Regions from separate parts of the Homo sapiens genome. Here all the other regions are linked to region 3. Evidence: promoter capture Hi-C in 16 types of primary human blood cells and fetal thymus (Javierre and others, 2016). All regions are on one chromosome and are shown on one strand. Each heading gives the region's core, a stretch centred on a gene start or on the middle of the fragment in contact. The rest is flanking DNA. Distances are from core to core; before and after follow the strand shown. Region 1 holds the start of FGF4 (fibroblast growth factor 4). Region 2 holds the start of FGF3 (fibroblast growth factor 3). Region 3 holds the start of ANO1 (anoctamin 1).

The links. The method cuts DNA at HindIII sites, captures the fragments that hold promoters and counts their contacts. A CHiCAGO score of 5 or more calls a contact.
Region 1: the fragment with the promoter of FGF4 here is called in contact with the fragment with the promoter of ANO1 in region 3 in 11 of 17 cell types (endothelial precursors, naive CD8 T cells, M0 macrophages and 8 more); the score reaches 12.7 in endothelial precursors.
Region 2: a contact is called between the fragment with the promoter of FGF3 here and the fragment with the promoter of ANO1 in region 3, in 4 of 17 cell types (neutrophils, M0 macrophages, total CD4 T cells and 1 more). The highest score is 7.4, in neutrophils.

What each region holds. Positions count from the first base shown.
Region 1 is chr11:69,774,030-69,776,729 of GRCh38, reverse strand. FGF4 (fibroblast growth factor 4) reads left to right here and starts at 1,389. Exons shown (of 3, transcript NM_002007.4): 1 at 1,389-1,985; 2 at 2,603-2,700. The coding sequence starts at 1,646. RefSeq lists enhancers at 1-640, 2,490-2,700 and promoters at 1,105-1,500, 388-1,500. The HindIII fragment of the contact is 22,710 bases long and covers 1-2,700 here.
Region 2 is chr11:69,818,054-69,820,753 of GRCh38, reverse strand. It overlaps FGF3 (fibroblast growth factor 3), which reads left to right and starts at 1,338. Exons shown (of 3, transcript NM_005247.4): 1 at 1,338-2,040. The coding sequence starts at 1,821. It overlaps LOC107984368 (a long non-coding RNA gene), which reads right to left and starts at 2,046. Exons shown (of 3, transcript XR_001748071.2): 1 at 1,681-2,046. RefSeq lists promoters at 1,329-1,475, 886-1,723. The HindIII fragment of the contact is 14,087 bases long and covers 1-2,700 here.
Region 3 is chr11:70,077,038-70,079,737 of GRCh38, reverse strand. It overlaps ANO1 (anoctamin 1), which reads right to left and starts at 1,421. Exons shown (of 26, transcript NM_018043.7): 1 at 1,024-1,421. The coding sequence starts at 1,131. The HindIII fragment of the contact is 4,637 bases long and covers 1-1,717 here.

The DNA.
Region 1 (2,700 bases), core at 140-2,639, 300 kb after region 3:
AGCCGGGTTGCATCTCGAAGCTGTGAGCTGCAGCCCAGGAAGGTCCAGGTCTGGGTGGCGCTGCCCAAGCAGGCTGCAGGCCCAAGGAGGAACAAAGATCCTCTCAAGGGGTGCGGAGCTGAGGTTCCGGTCCTGCCAAAGCCACTTGATGACCCCCAAGTGCCCCCCTTTCTGCACCTCAGAGAAGAGCCCTCAAGCCTCCCAGGTCCCCTCCAGGGGCACGAATAAGCCCCAGCAGGGTTCTGAAGGGGTCCCAGGAATCTCCCTGTGGGGATGCGGTGGAGGTGGAGGAGGCTGCGGTGGCCTGGGGACATCTCTGGTCACAGGTGCTGGTGGTATGAGAGATGGGGTAGGCACCAAGCCCCCTGCAGCTGTGGCTAGGCGGGCCTGCAGGAAGGGCCAGGCAGGCTCCTCAGGGACCACAAAGAACAGGGGTTTTCACACCTAGGTGGGCCTGCATCTAGCTAGGACAGTCCCCATCAGGCCATAATGGGCACAGTGGGAGGTAGAACCATGAGTGAGAGAGGGGAGGCTTCCAGAGGCCTGGCCTGGGTCCCTGCTAGATTGAGGGCTCTGGCTATGGTACATGGATATTTCTGCTGTGGAATCAAAGGAGCAGGGGATGCTGAATATCCCCTCTGGCCCTATGCCCTGCTACCTGTCCTTTCACGGAAGGGTGTGTGTGTAGGGGGTGCAGGACCAGGCCTCCCTGGGTGCATCTCTGCCACCTTGCCCTTTGGCTCAGGTGGACCTCCACCAGGTATTCAGAACTCCAGCCCAGAAACGCGCCAAGCCTGTGGGGCCAAGACCTAGGGGGTGGGGGTGGCCTCCCTCCCGCCTGTAGCCAAAGGGTCCTCCCTTGCCCAGCCAGGCCCCGGTGTCGCTTACTGCTCTTATCCACCCCTCCTTCCCAGGCCGGTCCTCAAGGCCCCAGCAAAGGAACCAAGTTCCCGTGAGCCTCCGAAAGGCGAAGGGCAGGCAGCAGCCGCTGGCTTCTGCGCCCACTAGGAGCTTCGGATGCCCGAGTTAGGGCTGCGCCAAGGCGGCCGGAGCAGAGAGGGAGACGGGGACGGGGACAGGCAGGGACAAAGTGCAAGAGGCAAAACTGGCTGAAAAGCAGAAGTGTAGGAGCCGCCAAGGGGCGGGACGAACAGGTCCGTGGGCCGGGCGGAGCCAAGGGTGGGGGCCGGGGTCCCTCCAGGTGGCACTCGCGGCGCTAGTCCCCAGCCTCCTCCCTTCCCCCGGCCCTGATTGGCAGGCGGCCTGCGACCAGCCGCGAACGCCACAGCGCCCCGGGCGCCCAGGAGAACGCGAACGGCCCCCCGCGGGAGCGGGCGAGTAGGAGGGGGCGCCGGGCTATATATATAGCGGCTCGGCCTCGGGCGGGCCTGGCGCTCAGGGAGGCGCGCACTGCTCCTCAGAGTCCCAGCTCCAGCCGCGCGCTTTCCGCCCGGCTCGCCGCTCCATGCAGCCGGGGTAGAGCCCGGCGCCCGGGGGCCCCGTCGCTTGCCTCCCGCACCTCCTCGGTTGCGCACTCCTGCCCGAGGTCGGCCGTGCGCTCCCGCGGGACGCCACAGGCGCAGCTCTGCCCCCCAGCTTCCCGGGCGCACTGACCGCCTGACCGACGCACGGCCCTCGGGCCGGGATGTCGGGGCCCGGGACGGCCGCGGTAGCGCTGCTCCCGGCGGTCCTGCTGGCCTTGCTGGCGCCCTGGGCGGGCCGAGGGGGCGCCGCCGCACCCACTGCACCCAACGGCACGCTGGAGGCCGAGCTGGAGCGCCGCTGGGAGAGCCTGGTGGCGCTCTCGTTGGCGCGCCTGCCGGTGGCAGCGCAGCCCAAGGAGGCGGCCGTCCAGAGCGGCGCCGGCGACTACCTGCTGGGCATCAAGCGGCTGCGGCGGCTCTACTGCAACGTGGGCATCGGCTTCCACCTCCAGGCGCTCCCCGACGGCCGCATCGGCGGCGCGCACGCGGACACCCGCGACAGTGAGTGGCGCGGCCAGGCGCGAAGGGGCGGGGGCGGGGGGCAACGGCCGCCGGGCCAACCCGCTCAGTCACACTCTGAGACCCTCGGCGGGCACCTGCTCGGGGGCCCCGGGAACCGGGGCGGACTCGGGCTCCGGTCCCTTCTGACGCGGGGCTGGGGACGCAGACACTCTTGGCTCCGGCAGCCCAGCGCAACCCCTGAGGTCGGGCGCCGCCTCCCGCCTTCAGAAACTCGGGCTCCGAGCGCCGAATTCCAGCGCCTTCGCCCGTGGGCACAGGGCGCGCGGTGCAGCCACAGGGGGCCCGAGACACGCGCCCCGGCCTGGCCCAGGCTGGGGAACCGCTGGGGTCGGGCTCGCGTCTGAAGGTCCGGGACTGGGTGCGGCCGCCGGGGGTCCCCTACACAGGCAAGCTAATCTGAGCTAGCGCAGGCTTGGGCTCCGGAGGCCCTAGAGGGCAGCTTGGGCTCTGGAGGCCCTTGGGGGCGGCTGCGCCGGGAACCCTGGCCCTTTATCCCCAACCCCACCCCAGAAATAGGGTCCCCGGAGGCGAACAAGCCGAGGGGCGGAGTGGGCCAGGGATCACCTGCCCCGCAATGACCTGCGCCCCGCCCCCAGGCCTGCTGGAGCTCTCGCCCGTGGAGCGGGGCGTGGTGAGCATCTTCGGCGTGGCCAGCCGGTTCTTCGTGGCCATGAGCAGCAAGGGCAAGCTCTAT
Region 2 (2,700 bases), core at 89-2,588, 260 kb after region 3:
GCCCTGGGGCAGCGGCTAGGAGACCCTGACTAAGACTGAGGTGCTCGGGGATGGCTTGGGGGCGCCCTCCTTCAGGATGGCCACCTGGACCCTGTGCACGCTGGAGTGGGCTCACAGAGGACACACTGCCCTGTGTGTATTGGGCCATGGGAGCTGGACACGTCCCAGGGGTGTGTGCTCACTGCCACAGCTCATGGTGCCCTGCACACTTGCCTGACCCCAAACCCTGATGCAGATGGCAGGCTGGGGAATGTCAGCCCACCCAACTCACCCCAGAGCCCCTGGTCAACTTGGAGCCAAAGCTGTGGCCTAGACCCCTGGACTCCACAGCGTGCCCTCCTCTGGGGCAGGGTTGAGAGAAGCAAATCCCCTGTGCTGGCCCCTGCTTCCTGCTGGCCCCAGGACCCTGGGGGACAGAGGACCAGGAAGCAAGAGAAATGGGTGGGGACATGGCTTTTCCCGATACTTTTTGAAGCCCCTCTTCACTGGGCCCCCTGAGATACACCTTGACCCCCACACAGTCCAGGGGACCACCTGGGCATCTGCACTGATTCAGATCCTCCAGGCCAGGACTCCCCCACACCCATTCCCAGCTTCTACCGGGTTCCTCTTGTCATCACCCACCCGCTGTGGCTACCAGACTCCCTGTGCTTTTCTCTGGGTGTTCTCCGCGGCTCTGTCTTCTTTCCATCTCCCCTGCCTCCTCTTTTTGGCGATCTCTGTCATTCACATTTTCCATGTCTTTCCCGTCCTTTCCTCCTCCGTTTCTGTCTGTCTCTATCTGCATCTCTTTCTCTCTAGGGCTCTCTGTCGGCGCCCACTTCTCTGGCTCTCGCGTCCCTCCTCCCGCCTCCCCAGGCCCCTCTCTGGACCGTCACTGGGACGGGATCCTCCGAGGCCTGCCAGACGAGAGCTAACCCCACCACTCCGGGTGCCCAGTTGGTGTGCGCAAAAGGAGATAGCATCTCCAGACCCGGCCTGCCCCGCGCCTTGCAAGGCTGAGGACAGCGCCACTGCTCCTGCAGGAAGCGCCGGGCGCAGACACAAACCCGGAGCTCCCCACGCGTGCCCGCGCCCCGGAGCCTCCCTGCCGCCGCCCTCCGCGGTCCCCTTCATTATGCGCCGCCTTTAATGGGCGTTTGTCAGCTCGACTTCCCCGCAAGTTGTTTTCACGGACATCAGTCATCGGCGGCGGCCCCATTGTGCAGGGGGATTGATGGGGAGCGGGAGGGGGTGACAGGGCCTGGGGCGGCCTCCTCAAGGCCTCGGTCTATAATTTTCGGAGGCATAATTGGTCTGGGGGAGGGGGCGGGGGAGGGGCGGGTAGGGGACCTTTCAGAGCCAGGAGGGCTTTCGGGGGCGTGGGGCGCGCTGCGGAGCGGAGCCGCGGCTCGACGGCGGTGCGCTGGCGGCGAGTGTATGCAGACGGCGCCCGGCCCGAACCCCGAGCCCCGCGGGGCTCCCCACCCGCCGGCCTCCCGCCCCTCCCGCGCCTCCGCCTGGGGACCACGTCGGCCTTTTGTTGGCGAACCGTCCTTTCTTTCAGCGCTTTGCGCAGCAACGGAAATTTCATTGCTCCTGGGTGGAAATTAAAGGGACTCGCGTTCCCTCTCTCCCTCTCCCTCTCCCACTCTCCCTCTCTTTCTCTCTCTCGCCCACCCTTCCCCCTTCTTCCCCCACCTTTCCCGCGAAGCCGGAGTCAGCATCTCCAGGCGCGGGATCCCGCTCCGAGCACCTCGCAGCTGTCCGGCTGCCGCCCCTTCCATGGGCGCCGCGCTCGCCTGCAGCCGCCGCCGCCGCGGGGCGGGCGCGATGCCACGATGGGCCTAATCTGGCTGCTACTGCTCAGCCTGCTGGAGCCCGGCTGGCCCGCAGCGGGCCCTGGGGCGCGGTTGCGGCGCGATGCGGGCGGCCGTGGCGGCGTCTACGAGCACCTTGGCGGGGCGCCCCGGCGCCGCAAGCTCTACTGCGCCACGAAGTACCACCTCCAGCTGCACCCGAGCGGCCGCGTCAACGGCAGCCTGGAGAACAGCGCCTACAGTGAGTGCCGGACGCTGCGGGGCCCCGGGGGAAGCGGCGCCGGGAGGGGTCGGGCCCGGGAGAAGGCGCGCTGCGGGGCCCCGCGGGGGAGGCGGCGCCGGGGAGGGGTCTGGCCCGGGAGAAGGCATGGTGCGCCCGGGGTGTCCGGGAAAAGACCGTCTGCCTCCCGCTGCCAGAAGGGGAATGCCAGGGTGCCCTCCTCAACCTACACGTCCGGGAGAAGAGCGCGCGCTGGGGTTCGAGCAGAACTCGGGGGCATGGGCGTTCACGTCCGAAGAGGGCGCCGGCGGCTGTCAGAGTCCGTCCCCGGTCCGGCCCGCTGGTCTGAGGGGACGCGAGCTAGGCGACCCCGGGGCTCCAGGCTCTGCTGCTTTGGGCAGCTCTGACAAGTTTAAGCCCTTTGAATGTGTCGGAGAAAAGGAGCCGGACAAGGCATTTATCATCCTCTTTATTATTTTGACGACTTCTCCTCCTCCTGCCGACCCCTGGACGCCCCGCCGTCCCCTCCGCCCTCCCCGCTCGCGGCTGCCCAGGTGGCCGCCCCCGCTGCTGCCTCTGCGCGGAGGACTCTTGCCCTGCGGAGCTCGGTTCCCTGGCCGCGGCCGCCACCGACAGTTATTCCCCGCGCTGGAATCTGCACCTCCCCCGCCTCCGCCCTGG
Region 3 (2,700 bases), core at 172-2,671:
GGCCATCCTCATCCTGCTTGAAGCAGCCCTGCTGGGCCTGACGCCTGGGGAGGGGCTTTGATGGGGTCTGCATGGGAAGAAGGTAGAAGGGAGCTTCTGTCCTTAGGTCCCACAAATTGCTGCTGAGAGCTTCCCTCACCCCAAGAGGAGATAGCCAGTCCCAGCCCTGTCCTATCCTCTTCCGGCAAACTTTGTCCTTCAAGCCAAACCCTTCCTGGGAGAATTCTGCCCCCCTCTCTAAAACATAGGGTTACCTAGACCTCTGGGTCTGGCCCTGGGGAGGGTGGTGGGGATATTGGGGACCTCAGGATGGGGTCCCCAACTTACATGACTGGCTTCCAACCAGTGCCCCCACCTGAACCAGGCCTGGGCGCCCAGGGGAGACAGGGGCGAGGGTAGAAAGCAATCTCCAATGATTGACACCCTGGGCTTTGAGAGTTTCGGTGCCAATGCCAGGGTACCAGGCCCAGTGCCCTGGGCACAATATGCGTTTCTGGCAAGTGAGGACTCGGGACTCTGGCCCCAGAGGATAGTGAAGCAGTGGGGCCTGGCAGTTACCATCATCGTGGAGTGGCGACCAACTTGGCCTTCACCCAAGACCCCCACCATCACCCTCACCCTGGCTGCCCCAACAGGTACCCCTGGCCGCGAGCCAGGAAGGGAAGGTCCCATCCAGGGCGCCAGCCGTGAGCTCTTGGTTGGGCTCCGAGCTGCAGCCCCGGGTGAGGCGGCTTCGGGGCCGCAGAGCTCCGAGGCCGGGCCATGCCTGGGGGCCCGGCGCTGCGCTGGGCGGAGTGGGCGCCGCGCTCGGAACGCTCAGAGCGCAGGCGGGGCGCACGCACTTGGCCAGGGCCGGCGCGCCCTTCCCGGCACGCACGTGCGCGGGTGGGCGCCGCGAACCCTGCGCGGAGGGTGCGGCCCCCGCCCTGGGGTCCCAGGAGGCCCTGCCGCCGCCCGGTTCCCGCCCTCGCCAAGGCGCAGGTGCGCGGCCCTCCCGCCCGGGTCGCGGCCGCCCGCACTCACCGTGCCCTCGGACGGCAGGTAGCCGATGTCCTCGATGGCGCAGATGTTGATGATGTGGACGCTGCGGTCCTCGGCCGGGAGCGTCGAGTACTTCTCGTTGACCCTCATCGTGGCCGCCTGTGCGCTGGGACCGCCGGGCGGCGCGCCCTCCCCATCCACGGCCCCGGCGGCCTCTGCGGGCGGAGACCGCAGCGTTCGCGGCGCGCTCGCAGGGGGCCGGGCCTCCCCGCGCCCAGGCCCGCCGGGGACGTGGCCGCCTCCCGCTCCGCCCGCCGCCCTGGCCCGCCCGGCCCGCGCGCTCGATGCGGGGGGCGCCTGAGCCTCTCGGGGCCGATCGCGCCGCCACCCGGCTGCTGGTCCCGCGGGCCGGCCCGCGCCTGGTCAGGAACTTGGACGCCAGCCGGCCCGCCTTTGCCTTAAAGATATAAGCGCTCTCCGCCCGCCTATGGCAGGGGCGGTGGCCGCGCCGGTCAGATTTTCCGTAGAAATTTAAACACAGGAAGAAAAAGTATTCCATTCCTGCGGGCCCCTCCAAGTTTTATTTTTATCCAGGGAAAGTGCCCCTTTGGATTTTTGAGGGTTTTCATACCGGGTGTGAAAGGGGGGAACTTTCAATAGCCCCACCTGAAATAAAGTCCCCGAGTGGCAGGCGCTTCTGTGGCGCGTCACCTCCGCCTCCGGGGGGAGTGAAGCTTCTGAGATTGGAGTCTGGATCTCTGCCCCTTTCCCTCCACCCTGGCAAACTCCTGCTGTCACTCAGCACTCACCTCCTCCGGGGAGCTTGCCTGGTTCCTGCCGACCCGCCCCCTCCAGCTGCCCGCGCTCCTGGGGGAGTCTCTCCCGGGGCAGTCATCTCCCTGGAGCCCACTGATGTTACCGGTGCCCCCGAGTTTACGGAGTGCTTAGTGTTCTGTGCCCAGGTGCGTGCAGCGTCCCTGATGTAGGGCGTGAGTGTGTATCATCTCATTTAACCCCGCACCTGCAAGGTTGGAATGCGGGTCCTCATTTTGCAGAGGACACTCAGGCTTAGGAGGGCCAAGGACCAGTCCGCATCCTCTGAGGTGGGGCGGGGCTCCTGCAGAGCTTTCCCCACTGCTGGGCAAGGCTGTCCTGCTTTCTGGAGGGGCGGAGCGGGGGGGATGGTGGCTTTGATCTCTCTTACCCCCGGACCTAGCAGGGGTCTGGCACACTGCAGATCTTCAAGTCTTCTTCCCCTAAGGAGAATAAGGCAGGTCCCCAGGGGACGACCATACTCAGGTTAAGCCCCAGGGGCCATGCTGGCCACCACATCCAGTGGAAATAAAGTGTCCCTCTGCCTCTCACATCCTATGAGTTCTTCACGGTGTGCATCAGATAGCACCTCCTGCAGGAAGTCCTGCTGGATTCTCCCCTACTGTCCCCTTCCCACCCAAATATGCAGGCCTTCCTGTCTATCCAAAGAACCTGCCTGAACCCCAACTAGCACTTCATTTATTCCGTCTCATTTTACAGTGGGTTGTCTACCAGGTTCACACAGCCGATGCTCAATAATTGCTTGTTAAATGGCCACTGGGGAACATTCAAGGCCTACAGAAGTGATTAGAAAATTGTCTTTAAAGGCCACGATGTCGTCAGCGTGCCATGGTTCCAAGCATGGAACCTGGAGTCAGCTAGGATAGGGTTGGAGAGAAGGGGTGG